Regions from separate parts of the Homo sapiens genome. Here regions 2, 3, 4, 5 and 6 are each linked to region 1. Evidence: promoter capture Hi-C in 16 types of primary human blood cells and fetal thymus (Javierre and others, 2016). All regions are on one chromosome and are shown on one strand. Each heading gives the region's core, a stretch centred on a gene start or on the middle of the fragment in contact. The rest is flanking DNA. Distances are from core to core; before and after follow the strand shown. Region 1 holds the start of SEC11A (SEC11 homolog A, signal peptidase complex subunit). Region 2 overlaps AKAP13 (A-kinase anchoring protein 13). Region 3 overlaps AKAP13 (A-kinase anchoring protein 13). Region 4 overlaps AKAP13 (A-kinase anchoring protein 13). Region 5 overlaps AKAP13 (A-kinase anchoring protein 13). Region 6 has its middle 54 kb from the start of MIR7706.

Evidence for each region. The method cuts DNA at HindIII sites, captures the fragments that hold promoters and counts their contacts. A CHiCAGO score of 5 or more calls a contact.
Region 2: a fragment that was not itself captured here is called in contact with the fragment with the promoter of SEC11A in region 1 in 1 of 17 cell types (total B cells); the score reaches 6.1 in total B cells.
Region 3: a contact is called between a fragment that was not itself captured here and the fragment with the promoter of SEC11A in region 1, in 1 of 17 cell types (non-activated CD4 T cells). The highest score is 5.9, in non-activated CD4 T cells.
Region 4: a contact is called between a fragment that was not itself captured here and the fragment with the promoter of SEC11A in region 1, in 1 of 17 cell types (monocytes). The highest score is 6.9, in monocytes.
Region 5: a contact is called between a fragment that was not itself captured here and the fragment with the promoter of SEC11A in region 1, in 1 of 17 cell types (monocytes). The highest score is 7.4, in monocytes.
Region 6: a fragment that was not itself captured here is called in contact with the fragment with the promoter of SEC11A in region 1 in 1 of 17 cell types (total B cells); the score reaches 5.9 in total B cells.

What each region holds. Positions count from the first base shown.
Region 1 is chr15:84,713,779-84,718,348 of GRCh38, reverse strand. SEC11A (SEC11 homolog A, signal peptidase complex subunit) reads left to right here and starts at 2,210. Exons shown (of 6, transcript NM_014300.4): 1 at 2,210-2,324. The coding sequence starts at 2,274. RefSeq lists enhancers at 862-1,425, 1,547-1,656, 1,677-1,796, 1,426-1,991, 2,467-2,536 and 1 more. The HindIII fragment of the contact is 22,021 bases long and covers 1-4,570 here.
Region 2 is chr15:85,702,765-85,707,334 of GRCh38, reverse strand. All of the region lies in intron 17 of AKAP13 (A-kinase anchoring protein 13), which reads right to left. Among named protein-coding and RNA genes, the nearest start is that of LINC02883, 54 kb to the left of the region's middle. RefSeq lists a silencer at 2,354-2,483. The HindIII fragment of the contact is 4,594 bases long and covers 1-4,443 here.
Region 3 is chr15:85,684,378-85,688,947 of GRCh38, reverse strand. It overlaps AKAP13 (A-kinase anchoring protein 13), which reads right to left. Exons shown (of 37, transcript NM_007200.5): 16 at 4,075-4,207. Among named protein-coding and RNA genes, the nearest start is that of LINC02883, 72 kb to the left of the region's middle. RefSeq lists an enhancer at 1,042-1,351. The HindIII fragment of the contact is 616 bases long and covers 1,989-2,604 here.
Region 4 is chr15:85,615,533-85,620,102 of GRCh38, reverse strand. The region is part of intron 8 of AKAP13 (A-kinase anchoring protein 13); the gene reads right to left. Among named protein-coding and RNA genes, the nearest start is that of LINC02883, 140 kb to the left of the region's middle. RefSeq lists an enhancer at 1,973-2,142 and silencers at 3,811-3,860, 3,921-3,970. The HindIII fragment of the contact is 1,108 bases long and covers 1,253-2,360 here.
Region 5 is chr15:85,544,182-85,548,751 of GRCh38, reverse strand. All of the region lies in intron 5 of AKAP13 (A-kinase anchoring protein 13), which reads right to left. Among named protein-coding and RNA genes, the nearest start is that of AKAP13, 170 kb to the right of the region's middle. The HindIII fragment of the contact is 1,568 bases long and covers 1,525-3,092 here.
Region 6 is chr15:85,324,247-85,328,816 of GRCh38, reverse strand. No RefSeq gene overlaps it. Among named protein-coding and RNA genes, the nearest start is that of MIR7706, 54 kb to the left of the region's middle. The HindIII fragment of the contact is 253 bases long and covers 2,029-2,281 here.

The DNA of each region.
Region 1 (4,570 bases), core at 961-3,460:
GTCTATTCTAGATATTTCACCTAAATGGAATCATGCAATGCTTTGTCTTTTGTGACTGGATCCTTTCACTAAATCTGTTTCAAGGGTCATTCATGTTGTAGTATTTCCTTTTGTTGCCAGATTAATATTCCATTGTACCAGCGGAATTATTAGTACATTATTCCAATATACCACATTTATTTATCCCTTCATTAGTTGATAAACATTTCAGTTATTTCCACTTTTTAGCTATTATGAATAATGCTGCTGTGAACATTCATGTACAAGTTTTTGTGTGGACAAACGTTTTCAATTTTCTTGGGTATATACCTAGCAGTGGAATTGCTGGTTAATATGGTGATTCCATCTTTAACCTTTTTTTGTTTGTGTGTTTTGAGATAGGGTCTCACTTTGTCGCCCAGGTTGGAGTGCAGTGGCACGATCTCGGCTCACCGCAAACTCTGCCTCCTGGGTTCAAGCGATTCTCCTGCCTCAGCCTCCCCAGTAGCTGAGATTACAGGTGCCCACCACCACACCCGCCTAATTTTTGTATCTTTAGTAAAGACGGGTTTTCACCATGTTGGCCAGGCTAGTCTGGAACTCCTGACCTCAGGTGATCTGCCTGCCTCAGCCTCCCAAAGTGCTGGGATTACAGGCATGAGCCACTGCAGACGGCACATCTTTAACCTTTTGAGCAACTGCAGCTATTTCCCAAAGTGGCTGCACCATTTTACATTCCCACCAGCAGTATATGAGGGTTCCAATTTCTTCACATCTTCCCCTAAACTTATTATTATTTGTCTTTTTTATTACAGCCATCCTCCAATAAATTCAAGTTTTTATTTTGGAATGACTTTCCATTTAAAGAATTTCGAGGATACTACAAAGAGTTCCAGTATATCCTTCATTCATCTTTCCCTAATGGGAGAGAAGGATTATTTTGAAAAAAAAAAAAAAAAAAAAAAAAGAGAGAGAAATGATACCAAGTAATCCAGCTTTAGTCTTTGTTGACTGAAGTGCGTATTAGGAGCTTTGGCCAGTCAAAGCAAAAGGTAGCGAAAAGATAGTCACTTCAAGGTGTCCAAGTTAAGAAAACCAGGAGGTAGAATTCAAGGAGACCATGTCAAATCCTGTCAGCAAAGTCAAGGTCAGAAAGGAAGCCACTTCCTAACGACCCACACCACTGGTGGTCTCATCACGCTGTTGCACCATTTGGATGTTTTCTAATTCTCCCGGGCTGTTTTCTCTCCAATTGGACTGTAAACTCCTGGCAGGCTCAGGCAGTGCTCGGAAGGTCTCTCACACGGTCCAACCTTACGCGAAAAGCACTTATTGAAAGCACCTCGATGGCCGGGCGCGGTGGCTCACGACTGTAATCCCAGCACTTTGGGACGCCAAGGCGGGCGGATCACCTGAGCTCAAGAGTTCGAGACCAGCCTGGCCAACATAGTGAAACCCTGTCTCTACTAAAAATACAAAAATTAGCCAGGTTTGGTGGCGCGCGCCTGTAGTCCCAGCTACTTGGGAGCCTGAGGCAGGAGAATCGCCTGAACCCGCGAGGCGGAGGTTGCAGTGAGCTGAGATTGCGCCACTGCACTCCAGCCTGGGCGACACAGTGAGAAAGAAAGGAAAGAGAGAAAGAGAAAGAAAAAGAGAAAGAGACAGACAGACAGAAAGTAAGCAAGCAAGCAAGCAAGCACCTCAACAGAGACAGAGACGTAAAGAAAGAGAGACAGAGACAGAAAGAAAGAAAGCACCTCCTCAGCTTCCCATAGCGCAGGAGACTTGCTCGACCAGAGAACCTACGGTCAGACGACACATCCACTGCCACACCCATACCCAAGCCGGGACGCGGAACCGCTTCTACCCGCCCACACCGGAGAGGTTGCTCGCGATTGGCCGGGCGGGCACAGAGGCCCGCCTTCCGAAGGTGGCAGAGCAGCCTCCCCAACTAAGCCTGGGTCGCCGCCTCGGTGAAGGGCCGCGGGGCCGAGCGCGGGAAGTGGCGTCCAGTCGGTTTTTGGCAGGCGAGAGCCAGAGCGTGAGAACCCTCCCACGGCGAGGCCAAGCCCTGAGACTGGACTAGCAAGGTCGTGAGTCTCTCTGTCAGCTCTCCGCAGCGAAGGGGCGCGGGGGGCGGGGACCGTGCCCGACCGTGCCAGCTCCCGCCCCGGAAGCGGAAGTGCAAGCACTGCGGGGTCCTGTCCAGTGTGAGCCCGACCCGAGCTCCAGTAGTTCCGCCCGCTGGTCATCGCGCCCTTTCCCCTGCCGGTGTCCTGCTCGCCGTCCCCGCCATGCTGTCTCTAGACTTTTTGGACGATGTGCGGCGGATGAACAAGCGGCAGGTGAGCTTGTCCGTCCTCTTTTTCTCCTGGCTCTTCTTGTCCCTTCGAGGCTGCTGCTGCGGGGCCCGGCGGACCCCAGGGTTCTGGTGTGAGGGTCTGAGCTGGTCTGATACCCGGGTCATTCGCTTTCTTTGGAGACTGTGGCCAGAGGCCGCCTTGTCCGCCTCATTATTTTTAACCCCGAACTGATTCAGGGCCTACCGGGGGCGGGGCGGGAAGCGGTGTCTTCACGTTCCATTCCTCCCACTGAGGCAGGGGAGCAAATGGAAACCGTACGCGCTTGAAGTGGGAGTTGGGGTTGCTTATTGTTTTAGTCATTTTAAGGCGGCGGACTCTTGATTTCTCCAGTCGGAGCGACTCCAGGTGGTTTCGGGAGAGACGAGGTTTAGCCGGTTTCTGGGGCGCTCAGGAAGGCGATTGGAGGCCCCACAAAAACCGTTTTGCTGCTTTCAGCTCCTTGCAACCCTTTAGTAGAGCTGAACCGTAGCGGGCTGCACCGACTTTGACTTGGACCACTCTGGGCTCCGAGTTGGAACAGTTACACTACTTGCCCTTGCGTCCGCTTAGCACTAAGGCGGCAGCCCTCGGAATCTATGGTTTTACAGTCCAATATCAGTGCCACGGGGATCTGGAAATGTAGGTCTCCTGATTTTGTCCTTACACTTTACTTTGATCTTCTAGATCGTATGCCAAATAGTACTGAGAATATTGTTGTAATTATTTAGTCCTTAGAAAAGGTTGTTCTGTTTTATCTTTTGCGCCTAGTGTGTCTGTAGAGCCTAGTTTTGCTGCATCGGACTTTTTTTTTGTTTTAAACAGTATTTTACTGTTATGATTATCCTGATGTCACCATTAAGGATTTTTTTTCCTTGGACTTGCATTTTTTGTACTTATAACTGCCACTTAGGGAAGTAGATACACAACCTTTCCTTACTCCCCTTCAGGCCTTAGCTAGCTCAGTGTCAATTCTGTCAGTCAGAATTGAGCATTCTATAAAAATTGCGCAAACGTTACTTTATGTCTTTATGACAACACTTCAAATTTTTACTTGTATAGTGTTGTCTTTTTTTAATCCATATTTGGATTTCTAGATGCCACAGATATTTCTCTGAGGAAAGTATTTATTTTGAGTCTGATATTTATTGTACTCTATGCTAGGTACAATGAGAGAAATGCAAAGATAGTTAAGAAAGACTCGGCCTTCAAGGAGCCTAAATGTGTAGAAAAGGACTAAGGCAAAACAATAACTTTTTTGAGCTCTTGCCATGTGTGAAGCACTTTATACACCTGTAAGGTAGGTAACGTTGTTCTTATTAAACATGAAGAAAATGAGACTTTGTGAGAAGCAATACAGTATAGAAGTTAAGAATATGGACTCTAAAGCTAGATTTCAGAGGTTTGAAGTAGCTCTGCTACTTACTGGCTGTGTGACTTTGAGCAGATTACTTAACCTGTCTGTGCCTATGTTTACTTTTATTGTTGTAAAAAGATATGCAACATAAAATATTCCATTTCAACCGTTTTTACGTGTATACTTCACTGACATTAGTTGCATTCACTATGTTGTGCAAACGTAGGGTCGCTATGAAGATTAAATGAGTTAATTCATATAAAGCCCTCAGAAGAGTGTCTGGCACATGGTGAGTATTGGCTGTACTGTGGTCGATGTCATTGTTAGAGAGCTTTAGTGATTTGCTTAAGACAGAAGGTAGACTGGGTGCGGTGGCTCACGCCTGTAATCCCAGCACTTTGGGAGGCTGAGGCAGGCGGATCACAATGTCAAGAGATTGAGACCATCCTGGCCAACATGGTGAAACCCCCTCTCTACTAAAAATACAGATACTAGCTGGGCCTGTTGGCGCACGCCTGTAGTTCCAGCTACTCAGGAGGCTGAGGCAGGGGAATCGCCTGGGAGGTGGAGATTGCAGTGAGCTGAGATCGTGCCACCGCACTCCAGCCTGGTGACAGAGTGAGACTCCGTCTCAAAAAAAAAAAAAAAAAAAAAAGAAGGTATATGGCAGGATGTGGATTTGATCTCAGGTCTTACTTTAAAGCCTGAACACTTGGATAAAGAAGGATATGACCTGTTCTAGCAGTGGTAGGAAAATTTTGAGAGGTTCCAGTCAGGGCATTACGAACAGCTTCAAGGAGAAACTAGCATTTAAGTTGGATCTTGAAAGACCTTAATAGCTTCATCTTTAACCTGGGTTGGTTAGCATTCCAATAATCAAAAGGGAAGGAATTCA
Region 2 (4,570 bases), core at 897-3,396, 990 kb before region 1:
ACAGCATTTTATCTCAATTCCTTTACTTTTCACTCCCTTGGCCTACAAGGGCCACTGACGTAAAAACCCAAGCCTCTGTGTCTCAGAAGGCTTACCATCAGCTCTCAGCGCTGCTATAAAGTCACATAACAGAACTGTTCCAGGAAGCCAGAGGTAAAGCAGAAACAAATGAAAGATCGGCCTGTGGGGACACTCGAGGAGACACTCTCATGGGAAGGGCTCACTCAGGAAATCAACCACAGATACCATTCACTAGGCAATGCCTCACAGACTGATTCAGGAAGCATCACAGGTCCTGTCTACATCAACTCACCAGTTAAGGGCCAACATCTCTTTTGGGCCAACATCTCTTTTAGCCCAGACACATGGATTTGTGGGGGACTGGAGTGATGATGGGGAGGGAAGGAAACCAGAAAGGAGACTGCTAGAATCCCAGACCTCAAAGGCCTATTCCATGCCTTTTGTAACACTTCCTTTAACACCCACTTGGTTCACAGGTCTCCTCCTTAATACCACTGGCACAGTGTATTGAGACTCTCTTAGGTTTTTCTCTATCCCCTCTCTGGGGCAGGGACCATTCACCCACTGCTGAATCTTCAAATTAAGACTCTCCAGCATAGTGCCTAGCTCATGCATCCTATTCAAATGCTCCTCTCTCGGCCCTACTATGCCTATTTAAACTAAAATTAGATGAATGCGCTGACACAGCCTTGATTACAGTATGTCAAACATCAATTTAGTAACACAAAAGGACAAACAGCTGTCAAACTAAATTTGACGTAGGTCCTGGCTCTGCATGTATGTATGTACTAGTATGACCCTAGTCCCTTCTTGACAGGCCTCCGTTTCCTCATCTATAAAATTAAAAAGGAGGAATCACATTTTCCCCCAGGTTCCCTCTGCTGTGATTCTATCAGATGGGTAAGTGAGTTTCAGGCTGCTGGACCCACAGCAAGAAGCATAACAAAGTGGTCGAGGCAAACGGCTTTATTTATTTTCTAGTAAGCCAAAACATGTTTCTGCCCATCCTCACGAGCACTATTCTTACTCAGGGTGTATGGTGCACCTCCCCTCCTCTGCCACAGAGATGCCCAGGACTTGCAGCTGGCATGCTCCTTTCTGGTTTCTTCCTCTCCCATTAGTTGATCCATCATATCCTTCCCATGCACAGACTTGAAAGCCCACCCCACTCAAACCCTTTCTCTTCACAAATCCCCACTCAGCTAAAGTCTTTCAAATACATCATCTTTAAGTCCATTTCTCTTTCCCTTCTACAGAAAAAGTATAAAAAGACTATGAAAAGGCAAAGTCAATGATTAGTAGATCTATGTTTTTCAGCGTGCTGAATCCTCAATATATAATGCTGAAGAGAATAAAGCAAATTACAAAAAGAGGTACTGTATGGTAGTATTTATGTAGGTTAAAAACAAAAACAAATTATATGTTGTTTATGTATGAAAATAAATTATAAAACACAGACTACGAATGCACTGAATTCATGACAGTCCTTGTCCTTGGGGAGGAAGGAAGATGCATGGGGCAGGGAAACAAAGGGGAATCTGAACTTAACCATAATGGTTTCTTAAAAAGTGAAACAATCTGAAGCCGTCTGACAGAATGTTACTATGTGTTCATTCTGAATCATGGACACATATGTGATAAATTACCTATGTATAATACTTTGTATTAACATTTTTCAAAATTAAAAAAAATTTTTAATTTTTAAAAAATCATCACACTCTAATGTCGTTCAAAGTTCCTTGGATTTGCTTATAAACATTTCCATATCCTTTTGCATAATCCATTTATCGCATCTTGTGATAACTTAAAGATAAGATTTTATTGTCTTATAATCCAGTTAAAAAAGTATATTTTTTTTCTTTTGTTTTATTGAAAATCTATAATATTTTAGGCACCTAAGGGCAACACAGGAGGTGGCAGATTTGCTGGAGAACCAGCTACTAATTCTGATCTGCAAAAGTGACCAAGAACACTATGGGCAGAATTTGTTTCCAAGTTCTGTTCTTTCTGTTCCTTTCTTCCCAACCAGTTCCAACACCCTACAGAGATTTAAGCAATGATGATTTTTAAGGGAGTGGCACTATCACGTAAAAAGGTTTCAGCAATATTCAAACTCTCAGGCCAGTGTTTGAGTGTCTGAGATGAACATAGAAGCAGAAAAAAATCATTTAAAATGTGCTTCTAGTAAAGAACTTTTCACATAAATTCACTTTTAATTAATTGAAACATGTCCCCAAACCCACAACCCAGCTGGAAGTTTAACACGCTCTATATTATGGTCATGAGTTTTCTCTTAGTGATAGTTTGCATGGACATCTCCTTAACATGCTGAAGTACCTACTTGAAAAACACTCAACTTGTTTCCAAGTTGTCCTGGACTCAATTCACAGTGACAGTTTTAGAGCTGTGCGTGGGTGATTTAGAAACTTCAGCCCCACTGACATCAGCCAAAGTCATGAGACTAAAATCTTACTCTCTGTTTGGGAAAACAGAAAATTACCAAGAACACAAGAATTGAAGACAAATCTAATACATTTTTAAGCTCTCTGCCACAAACCATACCATGTTGTTATGAAGATCAGAAAATAATTATCTGGCCTTTTATTTATTTATTTGATAGATTTCCTAATAGCAGTAGGCAATATGCTTTCATTTTTTAAAATTCTTCAAAAAGGTCTCAGCACAGTGGTTTATGGGAACAGAGCTGATCCCTAATCGGATTCCTCTGTACCTAAAACAAACAGTCCAGCCTTCAACTTCTTTCTTTGCTACAAGGAGGCATCAAACCAAAGAAAATGAAGTTAAACCCACATGACTGGAAACTATCATCTATCTATTGCTGTATCTTTTTTTTAACCCATGCCACCAACCACCACAGATCTTTGGCGAATGGTTATATACTATGTGTTTTTTATCTTTCGGAAGAAAAATAAAACAAACCATTAGCGAGGCTAACTTAAGAAAATCAACTTTATACAATGATAAGAGGAGTGGCCATGCCAAACTGAAATGAAATGACAGAATATCAAAGGACTGCCTACACAGAAACGAGCCACCTTTGGGAGCTGAGTCATATGCAGCCAAGGCTCTGACAAAAAAGGTCTTCCAGTACTTCAGTTCATTGATCATCACTTGGGAATAGGCTGAAGACTTCTGACTGTTCTGCCTACAGATGTGAGCAGCAAAATCTAACTGGGAAAAATGACCTGATTCTTCTCCAGGACACAAGTTGAGGAATTACCTTTAAGGATAGAAATGCACAACTTTCTCCTATCATTTCAACTCTAACCAAGAAAATGAAAATAAAACAAAAAACAGTTAAATATGAGCAAATTTAGAAATGCATGCTACAAAATTCTTTCTGCAACTTTAAACTTCTTGTTTAAAATCTTTAACAGAGACCCTGTCTCTCAAAAAAAAATTATTAAATATATGTGTGTGTATATATATATATATATATTTTTTTTTTTTGAGATGGAGTCTTGCTCTGTCACCCAAGCTGGAGTGCAGTGGTACGATCTTGGCTCACTGCAACCTCTGCCTCCTGGGTTCAGGTGATTCTGCTGTCTCAGCCTCCTGAGTAGCTGGGATTACCGGTCCATGCCACTACGCCTGACTAATTTTTTGTATTTTTAGTGGAGATGGTATTTCGCCATGTTGGCCAGGCTGGTCTCAAACTCCTAACCTCAGGTGATCCACCCGCCTCAGCCTTCCAAAGTGCTGGGATCACAGGCGTGAGCCACGGCACCTGGCCAATAAATAAAATCTTTGGGGGATTTGAGACATCGCCCTATCTGGACTAAGAGTGCTTATATGCAAAAGGCATGTGAGATGTTCTTGGTAGCTGGTGTAATAACCACAGTGCTGATGTACAGAACAAGAAGAAAGCCACAAAAAAGAGCCAAATCATCTCAGCTGAAGTAGCCCCAGCAGCAGTTTTCGTAACAACACTGGTAAACAAAAATGAAATAAAATGAAAGTATTCTGCTTAAAAAAGAATTGCCTTTATTGCTTAGGGTCTTTTTTTACCTTCCTTTTCCCTAAGTAATAAACTTCCTTCCTTTAATCAACTATATGTATTTTATTCTCTCATATAAGCAATGAACTATAAATGCCAGAAAACTGTCTAGAGGGCAACTTTTCTGATGAAATCAGAAGTAAAATCTAACCATCACACACATTCTAAATTCTTATGTTTCCTACTTAGATTGCAGCTGGTTTACTTGTTTATTTTTTATGTAAAAGAAACAACCTACCACAAAAGTACTGAAATGCTGCTAGCACAACAGAAAATAAATCAGCAATAATCTCAGTATCATTTTACATCTGTTTAAAGCAAGCAAAACAGAACCACTGGCAAGACCCCAAAACCTGAACATAACAAATTCCTTATTCTGAAAGACCCCACTAAGTCACTAAGCTTTTCAAAGAACAAATTATTTGTGGCAGCTGGAAAGAACAGCTGACTATTCAAGGACAGCTTTACATAATAGAGAAATAAGAGTTGAAAAGACATTCCTCTATTAACCCTGTTAAAGTCACCTAATCC
Region 3 (4,570 bases), core at 1,047-3,546, 970 kb before region 1:
GTTTAAATACTCTGTAACACGCAAAATTACTTAGCAGGAAACAGCACTATCTCTCAAAGATACTAAGACAAAAGCAGAAACTGCCAGTCTTCCTGCTATACTTCCTGTTTAGCATCCCCTCTCATCTTCCACAAACACATTCAATATATTTATCTAATCTAATCACTTATGCCAGTCGGTGATAATTCTCAAAAGGACATAGGATCAAGGACTCAATTTCTTAAGTTTATATACAAAACCCAGTGATCCAGACAAAATATGTTACCCTCCTAGGAATGTGAACAGTTTACTGCCTACTGGCTTTTGGCTTCTTTGGACATGTTTAAGAACTGTTTATCATCACAATTATACAACTGAATGGAATATATCTAGGTTAATCACTATAACCTATTTTCATAAAGATATATATATCATGCAAAAGGAAAGCAGACATTTTCAAATAATCCTTAGACACTTCTCTAAGAGTTACAGGTGGCATTTTAATATTATATTCGGTAGATGCTTAAATTTTTCCTTTAAAAGATGTAGGTCTAGTTTTATTGTATGGTAGATTAATAAAACAATTGGATCAGACGGTCTCTCACAGCATCTATTTAAAAAATAATTTTTAAAAACTGAAAATTTATCATTTTCACAGAAAAATCAGTGTCAATATCCATAGTAGCACTTTCAATTTGTTAACATTATGGAGAAGTAACATTATTCAATAGTTAAGAACAAGATTAGAGTTAGCATCACTATGTTAAGAAAATTTAATATTCATTAATTTTTATGTTACCATTTAGAAAATACAGTACTTCTGCATGGTAAAATGCTATGCAGATACATAGCAGAGTGAGGGTATTTAACACAAAATATACTGCTTTACTATTTCCCCTATTTCTTTCCTCTCTCTCTCTTTTTTTTTTTTTTTTTTAAGAGACAGGGTCTTGCTCCATTGCCCAGGCTGGAGTGCACACAGCGTACTGCAGCCTTGAACTCCTCGGCTCAAGTGATCCTCTTGCCTCAGCCTCCTGAGTAGCTAGGACTACAGGTGTGTGCCACTACGCCCAGCTAATTTTACAATTTTTTTGTAGAGATGAGGTCTCACTATACTGCCCAGGCTGACCTTGAACTCCTGGTCTCAAGTGATCTTCTCATCTCAGCCTCAAAGTACTGAGATTACAGGTGTGTACCACTGTGCCCCACCCCCACCTTTTAAAAAATCATCTTTTGCTACATTGACAAAAGCCAAGCTGTTCCAATTTTATTTAAAAGTGAGCTAGTAACACCTCACTATAAAAGGTGACTTACAGTTGCCACTAGGGCACTCTAAACACTTGGTAATGGGAAATGGACTACAATTCAGGGTTACAAATTTGTAATTTTTTGAGTTTCCACTGCTAAAGACAGCACGACCCCAAGAGATCAAATCTTGAAGCCAAGTCTGAAAGAGGAACCAATCTCAATTGCAAAAAAGTGTTGTCATTTTGACAAAGGAGATGATCAGAGACAAGAGGTCAACTGATACTAAAAGTTTCTACCAGTGATCACAGATTTCGGTCTAACACAAAATATGTTTTCTCCTGTCCTTTCTGCTCATCTCCTCCTAGCAAACTCCAGTCCTTTCAGATTAAAAAAGTTAAAAGAAAAAAATTACGCTGTATAGTAACATTTTGTTTAAACACAAAATGATGAGTACTACTTCCTGGAAGTCAGATAACAGGAGGTTGTGTGAGGTTGTGTGAGGTTGTGTGACATGAAGCATACATCTCTGTGCCTCAGTTTGTAAAATAAGGAGGCTAGGCTGAGGGCTGAGACTTTTTTAAAGGTCAGGGTCCAGTTTCTAAATTCCATCTTACGTTGTTTTTTTTCCTATCATGTGTATGTTTTACCTTATCCATGAGATGAGTGGTACATTCACTGCTCTGTCCTAAAACTCCATGACATTGGGGAGATGGCTAGAAAGGGGGAATCTCCACTTATTTATTGGTCTTCCACGAAAAGCTTGTTTGAAGACAAGATTCAGTAGTTTTAAAGCAAAATAAAAAACAATGAAAACATTTTGAATTCATCCAAACTAGATCATAAAGTTTTTCAAGGTCAGGACTATGAGCTTTAGTTCTCTTAGGTGCCTGTTAACACCTAGTGGAATGCTAAGACTATACAAAGCATTTAATAATACTTGGCTAATTTATATTGCTCTGTCCAAGGGGATTTTCTTTTGTTGATACCAACTAGTATCCAAGCCGGCAGTGGTAAGTAAAAAAGGTAAGGCTCTATTTTAAGCCTGGCTGCCAATATGTAAATACGTAGAATACTGGTAAAGCAGTATTCTTTGACCTTCATTTTTTTTTTTTTTGGAATTATAAAACAAGGCTGAGTCTGAAGTTAAATGTGTGATTATGCTAGAAATAATTTGCTAGACTCTTTGCATCTCTCCCTGATTGCCTACTTTCTCTCCATTCTGTACTTGCACAGGAGAAATGAAAACACAATTCTTGTGGCACGTTTGGTGGAAAAATTTCTTTGAATGTATTTGCTAAACCAAGAGATCTTACAAAACATGGTAAAATACTTTGGCTATATTTCCATCAGCCCACTGAAGTGAGGGCTTGAGAAGCTTAGTGCACCTTGTTTTGTGAGGGAGGAGGCAATGCCCTTTTATGACAATATTCTTGAATTCAATGTTTGTTTATTCCCTTACTTCTAAATATGCATGTATCTACGTGTGTATATATCTGTATGTACATGTATATACCACACACACACACACATGCATGCACGTGCACACACACACATACACACACACACACACACACAGTGATTCCTTGCAAGAGTTCCTTAACTGATTTCAAATTTTTATTTACTTATGTCTTTATTTTGTTAGAGGGTGTTGTGGGTAGATGAACAGGGTGTGAGAGGCGAAAAGTTTTTCCCCACGGACTTGAAATGGAATCAGTTTTGGTTTAGCACTGGGAATCAGTATAAGAAAGTGAACTTCTTTTCTCCCTTTCTTTTGAAAATACATTTTTAAAAAAGATTAGAAATATATAAACCAAAACATTAAGTGTAGTTATCTCTAAGCGGGGTTATTCCAGGAGATTTTCATTCTTTTACTTTTAGATTTTGAAGATTTCCATAATGAGCATGTGAAAAATAATTAGATAAAAAATGTTACTTTAGGCTGGGCACGGTGGATCACACCCAGGGCTTCGGAAGCCTGCAGCGAGAAGAGTGTTTGAGGTAAGGCATTAGACCGGCCTAGACACAACAGCAAGACTTCATCTTTACAAACAAATTTAAACATAGCTCAGCACGATGGCACAACATGACTGTAGCCCTGGCTACTCGGGAGGCTACGGTGCGAGGCAGGAAACTGCTTAAGCCTGGCAGTTCAAGACTGCAGTGAGCTATGGTCACGCCACTGTGCTCCAGCCTGGGTGATACAGTGGAGCCTTACACACACACACACACAGACACACACACACACACACACACACACACGGTTTAAACATTTATTTAATCTCTTAATCACTAAGAGAATATATTCCAAATGCTCCTAATTAGAAATAGATCTAAGAAATCATATTAGTCTTAAAAGTTCTTGTAATCTTCTGTGGGATAATCCTTCCCTCTAAAGCCAAATATAAATATTTTCAATCCTTTGATCTTTGCATAAAATCCTTCTGTTGCATTTAAACTGATATTACAGATTTAAGCACTGTGGTTTAAGAGTATGGGATTTGAAACCAAAGAGATCTGGTTTGAACTACTTCTTCACATTAGAGGAGTATCCTCGGTAAGGTACATCACTTTTAGAAAAGAGAGATAACACCTACCTGACAGGGTTGTTGAAAGGGTTAAATAATATATGGAAAGCACTTAGCATATAGTGAAAACTCAGTAACTGGTAGTTCCACTTCTTGCTATTTTTCTTCTTATTATTTTCCTTTAAATATTAGGCGATTTCGGAGAGTAATCCTGAATTTATTTCCATTTATGTCCCCATGATTTAACCAGTTTTGGTGTGAATGCAGGCTGTGACAGGATCCTACTGAGGTGATCACAAGCAATGCCCACAGTGATACTCACTTTGCTCTTCTTGCTGCTAGACATTTTATTCTTGATGTAGCTGAATGTACGACTGACTTTTGTTCCACTCTTCCATTCAGAATCTTTCTTGGAGGGGCTATGTGGCAGGAAATTATAGTTCTCTTCTGTTATACTAAATAAAAACAAGAAGATTGATTTTTTTTAAAGGGCTACAGAAGTTAAATAAAAGTGAAGCAGAATAAAAGGTAGATGAAGGCTGCTGAATGGCTTTTTATAGAGTATGCCACAACGCCCAGGTTCTGTTATCAAAACTTGGCTAAGTTTCCTTAGATCCGTCACTAATGTTTTCTTGTTCACTTGTCTGTTTTGGAGACAGTCTTGCTCTGAGTGGTGTGATGATAGCTCACTGCAGCCTTGAACTCCTGAGCTCACGCAATCTTCCTGCCTCAGCCTCTAGAGTAAGCTGGGACTAAAGGCACATGCCACCACGCCTGGCTATTTTTCAAATTTTTTTGTAGAGATGGGGTCTTGCTAT
Region 4 (4,570 bases), core at 557-3,056, 900 kb before region 1:
CGTTCATACATTTTGCCCAAATGCAAGAAAGAACAGAGAAAATGCAGGAAGTATATCCACTGTTAACTTGGGGACCAGTGCAAGTCCTTAGTTCCAAATTTCTCACGGTTAGGTGGTGGAGATCTCTGCCTTCCAGACTCCTCTCTATTAAAACTCTCAAAGGGGTCAAAAACAATGAATTAAAAAGAAATCAAGCAGAATCCAATGCCTTGAACTGACTGAGAACTTGCTGATAACTTCAGAGTGCTGGAAAGATGAATGTAGAACTCATAATATAAACAATAAATACCACCTAATGCTATACTTTGTGCAGATCTTGACTGAAAGAGAAGCAAACACCGTTTCCATCACTGGCAATGACTCCAGTAAAAAAATAAAGAATAAACTGGCTAAGCATAACGGCCGATACACGTAGGGAAAAAAACCCAAGAAGGCAATAAAAATCCAGTATATACTTTGCCAGGAAGAGGGAGAGAAAGAAAGGAAGACGACGCTATTTCAAAGCGATGGCATGAAAAAAGTCATTAGATTCTGTTCTTGCTTAAAACAAAAACAAAGACAAAGAAAATCTACTTTTCCTTAAAAAAAAGTAGAAGCTGGGAGATGCTTTTCAAAGTAAAGTCTTTGGAATCTCTCTTGCTCACCAGGCAGTAGGGCTTGGTTTTGATTTAAGTTGAAAATCTCTAAGGACAGCAGAGTAAAAGGGAAAAAAATAAAAGACCACTCCTGCTGTACTCCCTCCCTCCCTCCTTCCCTCCCTAGCCAGCCTCCTCCTCCCTTTTTCCTTCTCTCTCAAGAACGTCACTGCTTGCCCTTTCAGCTCCGCACCCGCAGCCTTGGAGGTTTGAAAACCCAATTGCAGTTGTGGGAACATGATTCATCTACCGAGACGAAGAGAAAAACAAGGCTTCCTTTTCCAACCCGCTTCTTCTTCCTCCTCCTCCTCCTCCCACCCCTATGAAAAAGGCTCTGTCAGGCATTGCAAGATGCAGCTCAGTTCTTTGATGTCAGAGTAGTATGCTAATAAAGGAAGGGGGGTGTTATACTAAACACCACAAGCGTGTACAATGGACTTGTCGTGAGGTACAGAAAATTGAAACTACCCAAAGCATACACTATACCTCCCTGCCAAATGCAAAGCAATGATTTAACACGAGAAAAATGTCAGCCAAATATTGCAGTTATGTCTCTAGGATCGAGACGTGGCTATAAATGTGTCTGATAAAGTTTAAAAATTATCAAGAGTTAAGCTTTATTTTTGGGGAGGGAGAAGGGATGATGGAGTTGATTTAAAGAAAATGAAAAAGAAAAGGAGTGGAACAAAGGAGTTCTGTGTATGTTAATATTTGTTGCGACTAAGTATAGCTGCCTGGCTGGGACTTCTTCAGTGTTTCTATGCACACTAACTGGGTCTTGAATTGTGGGTCTGCTACTTCATTTGCCTGTTTTCTTACTATTCCAGACCCTTCTAGCCCCCCACTCTATCTAACATTCTCAGGGACAGACTTACTTCAGAATGCATTCTCTCACCTGAGACATTCTCTTACTTGGATCATGAATGATTTGGGAGGGAAAAGGATGAGGAACTGAGGGAAGCAAAAAGCAGAAAGGAGTGAAGAAACAAAAGAAAAAGGGATTAAAAAAAAAAAAGGATTTCTCTTTCTAGGAGCTGCTGACATTTTCCTTGAGTTGTCCAGAGTAGTCCTTAGCTAGGCTGTGAAAGCAGTGGCTCAAATACCACAACAGAAGGGGAGAGGAGAGATTTAACACCTACATTTCTGTTGACATTGCAAACAAAGTTGGTGAAAAGGTTTTTCAGGAGCTAAAAAACGGATATAGAAAAAGGGTATAGATGAGTTGCTGTGTCCTCAGGCCAGATATTCAAGTTGCTGACCAGCTTAAAGGAGGGAAATACAGCAAACCCTGCTAAGAAGACTGTAAACGTCTTCCTCAACTTTCTATTAATACACCCCAGCTACATACAGGCTTTATTCTGAAATAAAAGCCATAAGGTTTTATCTCCCTATTCCTCACTGGTTCATCCGAGGAATGAAGGCGGACAACCCCTCCCCTTCTCGTGCCCCAAGTGAGCCTTGGCTCTGTAGTGGTACCAACATGTGCAGTGAAACAGATGTTGCTTTTCATTACAAATGAGGCTACAAAACAGTAGAAACAAGACGATTTGACAGAGATTTAAAAGTTGTAAATAAAATTCTTGCTCAGGCTTATCAAAAGCATGGGAACTTGACCAGAGATTTACAAATACTTCCAAACTATGTGGTCTAGGGCACAGACAGAAAGAGCCTTTAGGCTTGAATGTATAGATAAACTGATACTTTATTATCTTTTCTGTAAAAGCTTTCACCAAGCTAGAATGTAGAACTCGCCCTTCTTCTTTTTTTGAACACAGAGCTGCCTCCCCTCTGTCCTCAATATGGTTTGTTCCTCACTGCCACTCCCTTCTGTTTTAATTAGAATCAAATGATTCCTGCTTCCAAGGTTCCCAGGCATCTGTCTCTCTAGGGATCAGAGATGGTTTAATCACCATTAAAACCCTCCTACCGGCTGGGCGCGGTGGCTCACGCCTGTAATCCCAACACTTTGGGAGGCCAAGGCAAGCAGATCATGAGGTCAAGAGATCCAGATCGTGGCCAACATGGCGAAACCCCCATCTCTACTAAAAATACAAAAATTAGCCAGGCATGTTGGCACATGCCTGTAGTCCCAACTATTCAGGAGGCTGAGGCAGGAGAATCGTTTGAACCTCGGAGGCGGAGGTTGCAGTGAGCCAAGATCGCGCCACTGCACTCGAGCCTGGCAACAGAGCAAGACTCCGCCTCAAAAAACAAAAAACAAAAACAACAACAACAACAAAAAAGCTTTTCTACCCTATCCCTGTCCAGTGACTTACATGCAGATAATTTATAACAATGTAACAGATATTTTGTGACTTCTAGTGGAGGCAAGCAAAATAAATAGGTAACAAGGTGTCTGTCTTCAGGAAGTTTTTAGGAGAGAGAAACTTGTTTCAAAATAATATAATTTTCTGAAAGAGCCTAGATTACTGTTTGAGACATAAAGACTAACCTTTTTATTTCTAACTTCTGGCTTTGTGCCACAGGCTGGAAAGCTAGATTTCCTGCTCTTTCTGCATATTAAAGGACAATTCCTTACATATTCTGTTCCTTGTTGGAGGACAAATACCCTGGGTGGGAAACAAATGCTCTGGGTGGAAAAAAGAGTCTGTGTTGCTTTCCCCTCTGGATCTGCTCAGCACTCCCCAACAGAAGACAGAATCTGCAGTCTTGTGCTTTTGCAGTTGATGTGACAATTCCAAGTTTTTATCAAAAACATCTGGAACCATTGAACAGTAATTCTGCCAGGATTTTGAAATACAGCAACCAATCATTTCATATCTAAACCAGAGCTGAGAGTTACAAATTTAAAGGAGGTTCTGAGTTTATTTCCCTTTTCTTTTAATTTGGGGAACCTGTAGTAAAATATTTTATTATTTACAGCCATACTACTTAACAGTAGTTACTTACAGTATTAATTGTCTTTCCTTTCTTTCTGCAGCCTCCATCCTGCCCTCTATCCACACAAATGGTCCCAGATTCTTTAAAAACAACCAGTGCTTTTAATCTGTCTCATGCCACAGGGCCAACATGCAATTATTAAAGATTCCAGAAAATGAAATATAAAAATATTTTATACATCTTAATTTAGCTATAGCATTTGTGTTCATGAATTAAATTTTCATTTGATTTACTTAACTACAAGATCTAGCACCTTACCAAATTGTTTAAGCATTCTTATGGGTCAACACTGTGGCTGCTTTAGTTCCAGTTAGGGCAGAAGCCCATCTGGAGTCTCACAGCAAAGTTTCTGAATTAGGACACCACCTAGTGGGGGATGCTGAAGACCCAAACAGAACACCAAAGGCCAGTGAATATTTTTGTGGGGGTGTGGGGATAGGGGTAGGGCTCATCTTCTGCTACTATGTATTTTTTCCTGAAACCCCAAAGTGAACATAAAGTAGCAGCATGTGAATGGACACTGGTTAATGACTCATCAATGATCAATTTTACTCTCTGCAGAGAACACAAGGTACTAAGTGAAAATCAAGGGTTCTTTGTCTTCCTAGGTGTGCCATTATCTCACTGAGCAACTTGGGAGATACTAGTTTGACCCTCTGGACCAAGATTTCCAGAATGGAAAAATTAGAGATTCAACGCTAGGTCATATCTGAAGATCCTTCTTGCTCTAATATTATATACTGCCAGTCTGAGACTAGGAAGTTATCACATGCCATATAGTTCATGGGATACGGTAGTTTCAGAGGAGAAAGAAAAAGGAATTGAGACATTCTCTTAAAACTTGCAGAAAACATTATTCCTGCATAATGACACTTTCTACCTTTGTTCTTCACATGAAATGGGAAGGAAGGAAAAGTTTACCACAGTCAACAATTTTCATTAATCTAAACTTAAATATAGTGATCCATCCAGAGTTACACATATGTTGGTGGTAAAATGTATTAGAATACAGATAAAACATTTAGCCTCCACTT
Region 5 (4,570 bases), core at 1,059-3,558, 830 kb before region 1:
CAAAACAAGATATCTGGTAGACCGATCAACTGGAATTTGAGTTTCATTGATCAGTTAACTCTAATTTTACTGATGTCATTATTATTATTAATATATAAGAAATGTTCAAATAGAGTATCTTAGAGTTTAACAAAGTATTTGCACCAATCTTTTTTTAGTTAAAATAACCTTGTGATGTAGGCAGAACAGGTATTATCATTAAGAGAGGGGAAACATGAGACTCAGTGGATAGGTGACATTTTCCAAGTCACACTAACTACTAAGTAGGCAAGCTTAGATTTTTATTAAGCTTTTAATCCGTAAGCAGTTCTACCATACTATACTACCATCTTTCTCCAAGAAGAAATATTTATGCACCTTTATTTGCTCCACAAAAATAACCAGAATCTGTATGACAAATAAGCCCTAATTTTTCATATTGCATACACTAAAGGCTGGGTTATCATCCAGGAAGTAAATAGCAATATCCTTTATTTATGAGATGAAGAAATCAAGGCTTAGCAAGGAAAGTTTGCAAATGGCAGAGCCAAAATGCAAACCTAGGTTTGACTTCCAAGTTTGCACACCTAGTCACTAGCTGGAGCCTCCTCTTACTCTCAAGCTCCCTCATACCCCCAACATGGGTGATCCAAGTCCCAAGATTTCTACTTTGAGATGTGTGAGTAAGAGATCAGCCAGATCCAATAACATCTGGCTCTAATATTTTCTTCTTAGATAACTACAATGCCACGCTCATCTGATATTGTCACTTCCTAGCATTCATGACACCAAGAGCCTGCAAACTGGGGTCTTTACCTATTCTCTCCATTACTAACTAGTTAGGTGACCATGGGTGGGGTCTTCAAATCAGAGGAGATGATTGTCCAACTAAAGGAAAAGTAGGCCTACATGTTTTGGGTACTCTTCTGGGGCTAAGATTTCTCAGGCAAGACAGAAAATTAAAGAAAGGGAAATAAGAGATAACATATATGTCAATCACTGAGTTATGCTCCCTACATGAATTCTTTCATTTACTTAGAGTGAAACTTAAATACAATGTATTTAAGATGAATTTTCAGATCACAAATGCATTCATATTCATAATGTAAGATCTAAATATAAGCTAAAGTGAAACAGCAAGTCAACAAAAGCTCTGCCTTCCCTAACACTGAACAAAGTGAAAGTTAACAATCATGGGTTACAAAAAAGGGAAACTGTAAAAAAAATGTCCTGAGTAGTTATTACTATCTGGTAGGATTTAAAATAAAGTTCAAGTGTTTTCTAAAGGGATAGGTCTTAGAGAATCCTTATATGTCCAAGAATGGCTAATCATAATTTTCGCAGAAGTAAGACTTGCTTTATCAAAATAGACTGGCAATCAAAATAAGCCTTGAACAAAGAAACACAAAAAGAACTTGGGCCCTAACCAGCACAAGGCTCCCCACACCCCACTTAAAAATTAAAAAGCAAAAAACAAGGTAAAGCACCAAGGAATTAAAACAACAAATGTACTTGGGAAGGGCTATAAATGGGGTTAAATAAGCTTGACTTTTCAGTAAAGTGTAGAATGCAACTAGTTATTCAATAAATGTAAAATATACATAGCCATACTTCAATTTCATACTAACTGAAAAGAGGCAATAAAAGAGGCCGGCTTATATGTGGACAATTTCATTTTTAAAAAGCAGGGTGGGGAAGAAGATACCCAAACTATTAGAAAGATAGCATCATGGCTGGGCGCGGTGGCTCACGCCTGTAATCCCAGCACTTTGGGAGGCCGAGGTGGGTGGATCACGAGGTCAGAAGTTCGAGACCAGCCTGACCAACATGGTGAAACCCCGTCTCTACTAAAAATACAAAAATTAGCCGGACATGGTGGCGCATGCCTGTAATCCCAGCTACTCAGGAGGCTGAGGCAGAAGAATTGCTTGAGCCTGGGAGGCAGAGGCTGCAGTGAGACAAGATCGTGCCACTGCACTCCAGCCTGGGCTACAGAGCAAGACTCCATCTCAAAGAAAAGAAAAAAAAAAAAAAAAGAAAGATAGCATCATACATTGTGGCGATTCTTAACTTTCTACAAACCCCTTCGTGAATCTCACCAACAAATGCTTTATTCAGAAAAACATGTGCATAAACCTTTATAATTTCAAGAGATACAGACCCCATGAAGTCTATTCTTGGGCCACTTTTTAAGAATCCCAGGAGTGGAAGGAAAGAGCTCTGGACAGCTTTTGGCTTCTATTTCTGGTCATACCACCTTGTTATCTTCATCCAACCACTTTGTCTCTCTGGATCTCAGTTTCATCTGTTAAAGATGATCTTTTCTTTTTAAGGCTGTAGTATTCCGTTATATGAATATACCACATTGTCCATTTATCTGTGATGGACATCTAGGTTGTTTACACTTTTGGCTGTGTGTGTGTGTGTGTGTGTGTGTGTGTGTGTGTGTGTTTGGTAACAACAATTATATAAATTTATTTATGGGGTACAGTGTGATGTTTTAATCTATGTATATACCATAGAAAGATAAAATCAACCTAAGTAACATATCCATCATCTCAGCTACTTATTTTTTTGTGGTGAGAAATACATTCTTTTTTAGCAATTTTGAAGTACGTATTGTTTTTCTGACACGTTACAACATGGGTGAACCTTGAGGACATTAGCTATGTAAAAGACAGACACAGAAAGACAAATGTTGCATGATTTCACTTATATGAGGTACCTAGAATGGGCAAATTCTTAGAGACAGAAAGGAGAACAGAGGTTATCAGGGGCTGGAGAAAAGGAAGTTCAGTTTGGGTGATGACAAAGTTCTGGAAATAATAGTGGTGATGGTTACGTAACTCTGTGAGTGTTGTGATGGTACTGAATGCTACTGAATGCTGTCCCTAAAATTTACTATTTTAACCATTTTTACGTTATGTATATAGGAAAAGAAAGGGGAAGGAAAGGAGAAAAGAAAACCAATAACAAAATGATCATTCTTGATTCTTTAACAACTGAAATTCTACCAAATTCTACTAGAATCACTCTCACACTGAGTGATTTGGGACAATCGCCCCCTTTCCATTTTTTAATCGCTAATTATGACTCAGAACTTTTTCTAAGCTTCACAACAGTAACATCCCAGAATTCAAGTTAAGAGCTAGATCTGCAGCAAGGTGCTCATCCTCTCCTATCAGGGTCCTCTATTGGTGATTTCTCAGGTTGGTTTTCCCTTACCAATCTCCCTTCAAAAGGAGGTAAGTGGCTTTCCCACATGTAACAGAAGTAGTACTTTTAAAGTAAGCAAAAAAAAGTCAAAGAACAAACACACTCTAGTTTCCTTAAAGCTGTGCTGCAATAACAGTCTTGTGACATCCCCTCCAAGGATATAATGAAGCTGTTGTAATCACTTTATTTCCCCATTTGGATGGCAGTCCTTAACCAACTCTGCTTCCCAGCAAAAATCAAATTTAGAGGAAATGCATTTGAACTTCACAATAGTTATGCAGAGTTAACTGTTTCAACTTCTGAAACAAGGCCTCTCTTCCTGAGGCCATGAGGCTAACCGTAGAATGAATCCAATCATTGGCCAGATGGGAAGTGTGAAGGAGTAGAATGTATCACTCCCTGGAATACTGTCTTAGGAGAGCTCAGGTATCCAAAGCTCATTTGAGATAAGTGCCCCTCCTACCACCACTGTATCTGTAGCACCCATCAGAAAGCTTTCTGCAAAGAACTGTCTGTCTAGCGTGATGGGGAAAGGTATAAGCCTGGCAAGTGAATCAAGAAAAAGCTGTTTACATAACCGTAAGTAGCACTACATTCTGAGGTCTCTTTTTGGTCCTTCCAGACTATATACACAGTTAAAAATGGTAAAACATAAAGCACAACTAAATTAAATCTGGCATGAGCAAAATATCTGAGAATTTGCTAATACTGACTCAATTTGCACAGGTCCCTCAATTGCTAAAGAACATAGATCCAATGGGTTTATACTTGTTCAGATAATGTGGTGGAAAAGATAATGATGATAACCACAAAACTAATAAAAATGTATTAAACAACAGAAACTATTCTTGAAACTTCTTTATATAAACATTCCAATAAAAACTTTTGGCTGCTCTAGTGTGTTTATTTCTTTATTTATACAAGAATAAAAGAGCGCTCTTCAAATGTTTTGACTAACAACCTTCCTCTAGAGAACTCTTTAAAGAGTCAGGACATATAATAATTGAGCCCAAAAACAGACAGGATTTCCTACTGCACATTTCCAGGACAATTCAGTTGCTTTTTATTGCTGTTCATATGAAGAAACCACTGCTCTCAAATTTTATTCACAGAAATTACATTCAATCCAAAACTTAATTGTTTACAATATTTTCTGTATGCAATTATAATATGGAAGTACTGGTTTCTAATTAACTCTTTCAAGTCTTAAAGACATACCAGAAAAAAATATATGATATAGGAAATCTGTTTCCTCTTGTACTAAACCAGGATAAACTGTATACATTGGTAATGTTATGCTACCTCCACAGACAAGGCTCATTCTGACTTTTGAGTAAAATAGTAAAATATAAGAGATAAGAATTGAAGAAGGCAG
Region 6 (4,570 bases), core at 906-3,405, 610 kb before region 1:
ATGGGTTTGGGTGTAGGGTGGAGGTGCCATTATGCTTGCTGTGGATTTGTCTTTTTAAAAACTGAATTGCTATCTTTCCTTGCACCCCAACATTTGGTTTGCTCTTAATAAGGCGGTAACTGTGGTCTAATGGAAAGCACGTTGGCCTCGGGGTCTGAAGATCTGAGCTGGAATCTCAGCTATGCCACTTACTATGACCTTGAATGAGTGGGTCATTGACTCTCCCCTCCTGAGCTTGGACTATGAGCTATTCATTCCCAGCTCATAAGGTGTGTGTGAGGATTAGAGGAGATGACAGATGAAAACATCTACTTAGTATCCAGCTTATGGGGAGTGCTCAATCATTTATGTGCATTTATACAACCCTTATTTATTTATCCATCCAATAAGTAGGTGACATAAATCTGGGGGCAGGGAATATGATACTGTACTGAATACTTAGAAAATTTCCAAAGATGAAAATAGGGCCCTAAAGGGGTTTGTTCAGGAGAAAGGAAGCATCCTTTCCTTTAGGTCAAACATCCTCTCAAAGCGAAGGTATATTTAGAAGCCTTCAAACTGGCTTCCTGCACTAAGGGAAGAAATATTTGCATTTGTAGAGATGACTTATTAGGGAAGCTCTAATAAGTTCTCACAGTGTGGCTCCTTGATCAGCATCAGCATCACATGAGAACTTGTCAGGAATGAAATGACAAAGGCCAGCTCCTAAAACTCAATCGATTTGTAGGTAAAATACTCAGGCCCTCGCTCATAGGCTTGGTTCTTATCAGATGCTTTTAATCCATAGCAGAGAAAAAACAGCAAATAGGAAGTGAAGTGGAGCTATTAGAAGGTGGACCAATAAAGGCAGAGATAAGATGGCAATCGATGGAGAAAATTCAAATACTAAGTCCAGACTTAAGCTCTTTAAATGTAGGTAAACAGCAACATACTTCCTCAATAGCCTATGGTCATTACTTAATATTCTAAAGGGAGATATCTGTAGTGCTGGCCTAGAATCATCAAGAAAAACTTAAACCATGTTTTTGTGTTCTGTTTAAAATGGTAGGATGGTATGGATTTCAGAAAGACTTTTTTTTTTTTTTTTTTTTTTAGATAGAGATTCACTTTTCTTGCCCAGGCTGGAGTGCAATGGCGCATTCTTGGCTCACTGCAACCTCCGCCTCCCAGGTTTAAGAGATTCTCTTGTCTCAGCCTCCCGAGTAGCTGGGATTACAGGCATGTGCCACCACACCCAGCTAATTTTTGTATTTTTAGTAGAGATGGGGTTTCACCATGTGGGTCAGGCTGGTCCCAAACTCCTGACCTCAGGTGATCTGCCCGTCTCGGCCTCCCAAAGTGCTGGGATTACAGGCGTGAGCCACTGCACCCGGCCAGAAGACTTTTTTAAAATAAAAAATATACTTCAAATAACATTTGAGTACTTTAAGGAGTTAGCTTTACTTATTTGGGAATTTCACTTTGTGGCATGCTTCCTTCCCCCAAGAAACTGATCAATGAGGCATCACTGTAACTTGTTGAGGTCAAGTGCTATTTCCCATACTTTTACCCACTCCTGTTTGACCACACTGTAAGAACTCAATAAATATGTGTTGGTTGATTAAGCTTCCCTCTGGGCATTGGGAAAAAAAGGGGGTAAACTCAATTGTTTTATAGTTATCATGCTGTTGCCACAATGCCTGATTATTGCTTTTATCTTCAAAGCCCAATGTTCCCTGCTGATTTCTGTATTGTTTGCTTCTTTTCTTCTTTGCAGAAAATGAAATCTATGCATGGAGTGCAATCTTGCTGAGAACAATTTGTTTCCTTTCTATATTGTCTCTCCATGCCCTGCTCGCTCCCTTCAGGTACTAATCATAATTATAGTGCTTGAAGATTCAGTGAATTTCATCATTCCTTGTTACCAGCTATGAAAATCATTGATCGTTTCAAGGATTGGCTATTTGTTGAGAAGACTTATTAGGGAAGCCCTAATGAATTCTGAGAGCATGGTCCCTGGACAAGCAGCATTAGAATCACTTGGAAGCTTGTCAGAAATGCAAATTTTCAGGCCCCACTCAGACCTACTGAATTAGAAACACAAGGAATGGGGCCCAGCAATCTTGGTTAACAAGCCTGCCAGGTGATTCTGATGCCTGGTCAGGTTTGAGATTGGCTGTTCTGGAGTACCATCCTTCATCTCACCTCTTACTGTACCAAAGGAAGTGGAGTAGGGGTTGGGGAGACAAGTTGTCCTCAGTTCAGAATATTTGGAATATAAACCTACAGAGATAACTAAGCTTAGTAGAAACAGCACAGGCTGAGATAAACCTTGGCTTAAATTCTGGCTCTGCCTACATGTCTTTGAGCATAGCATTAATACACCCTAAAATGTTATTAACCATTTTGTGACTCAGTGTCCTTAATGCTTTGCAGAAGCTAAATGTTAGTTCTCTTGCCCTTATGTTGTTTAGGCACTAGAAGTGTTTCCACTTGGAAAAATGTGTCTTCCTATGAAAACCATATTTGGTGCCCAGAACCAAATGTATCTGAAATACTAACTTGGCTTTATACTTTAGGTATATTATGGGTTAAAAACACACTTAACAGGCTTTTGTGTGCTGGCTTGGGAACTTTATTATCCATTTATTTCATCATTTAGTCATGCCTTTTAAAAAGCACAATACAATTTCCCTATGGTGAAATATATTCCAAGTTCCAAAAATATAATTTATACATAACTTTTGTGACATGCTCTGTCCATTTGATGTCTCTATGCATCCATTATATCTTTAATGTAATCCAGATAGTCAAACTCAAGGAGCAGGGATTTGGAAGCTCCACAAAATGAGTATCTTTCCTCAATACTAGTAAATAGTCTTTGTAACTAAGTAAAACTCAAAAGCTGTGACTTGTTTTCACTACTGACTACGCTCAGCTGAAAACGAAGAATAAGACATTAGGGCAAACCTGGGCTGACTGAGGCATGGAAGAAAATGGAAACACAGAGTTTGGGCACCTGTTTGGCCATGAAGCCACGTCCATTGTCTCTAGGGTAAGTTCTCACTGAGCCTCCTAGCACCTTAGCCACCACATCATAAGGTGACTTCAATGCTGTAATTCAAGGGCAAGAGCTCTAGACTTTTGAAATGAACCACTCATATCTTTTTTTTTTTTTTTGAGACGGAGTCTCGGTCTGTCGCCCAGGCTGGAGTGCAGTGGCGCGATCTCAGCTCACTGCAAGCTCCGCCTCCCGGGTTCACGCCATTCTCCTGCCTCAGCCTCTCAGGTAGCTGGGACTACAGGTGCCCTCCACCACGCCCGGCTAATTTCTTTTTGTATTTTTAGTAGAGATGGGGTTTCACCATGTTAGCCAGGATGGTCTCGATCTCCTGACCTGGTGACCCGCCCGCCTTGGCCTCCCAAAGTGCTGAGATTACAGGCGTGAGCCACCGCGCCCGGCCCATATATATATTTTTTTTTTTCTAAGAGGAAATGCACAAATGGTGAGAAGAGATCTCAGCTTTTGTTCCAGATCTGTAAGTTTTCTCCTCTTTAAAATTGGCCTGAGCCAGGCGTGGTCCCAGCTAGTCGGGAGGGACCTGTAGTCCCAGCTAGTCGGGAGGCTGAGGCAGGAGGACGGCTTGAGCCCAGGAGTTTTAGGCTGCAGTGAGCTATGATCACACTGCTGCACTCCAGCCTGGGTGACAGAGCAAGATGTTGTCTCTAACAACAACAATAACAAAATTGGTCTGTGAAAATGTAAATGAAGACTGCTAATTTGTGTGAAGCAGTGTGGTTTAGTAGGTAGTGTGTGCATGAGAGGCAGAGGATCTGAGTAACCCTGGCCTTATTTCTTGCACATAATCTAATTTTTTTTTTTTTTTTTGAGATGGAGTCTCGTTCTGTTGCCCAAGCTGGAGTGCAGTGGTGTGATCTTGGCTCACTCCAACCTCCACCTCCTGGGTTCAAGCGATTCTCCTGCCTCAGCCTCCAGAGTAGCTGGGAATACAGGTGTATGCCACCATGCCCAGCTAACTTTTGTATTTTTAATAGAGATGGGGTTTCACCACGTTGGCTAGGCTGGTCTCAAACTCCTGACCTCAGGTGATCCACCTGCCTCGGCCTCCCAAAGTGCTGGGATTACAGGCGTGAGCCACCGTGCCTGACATAATCTGATCTTTGACAAGTTATGTAACCTCTTTCAGCCTAAGTTTTCACATCTGTAAAGGAGTAATAATAATATTAATGATACTCAACCTTCCTAATTCCCAGGGCTATTGTTGTAAGGAAGAAATAAGATGATGTATGTTAACATCTTAACCAGTCTATACGGACATGGAATATTTATCTAGGAAAAAAACCTAGAAAGCCATCAAGTGGAGCTTTTTCGACCACAGGGGGCTCTTTTGATAGCAGAATGAACAGGAAGTAACCACAGATGGAATGGACTTGCATAATGAGAGAGATTTTTTCCAGCCAACATTTAACCCTTTTTCCTGCTTACAGCCAATGACTTTTCATAGCTGGAGAAGGTGTTCATGTATATTTCTCACAGGTACTTTTAGGGGAGTTTCTGCAGAGGGCATTT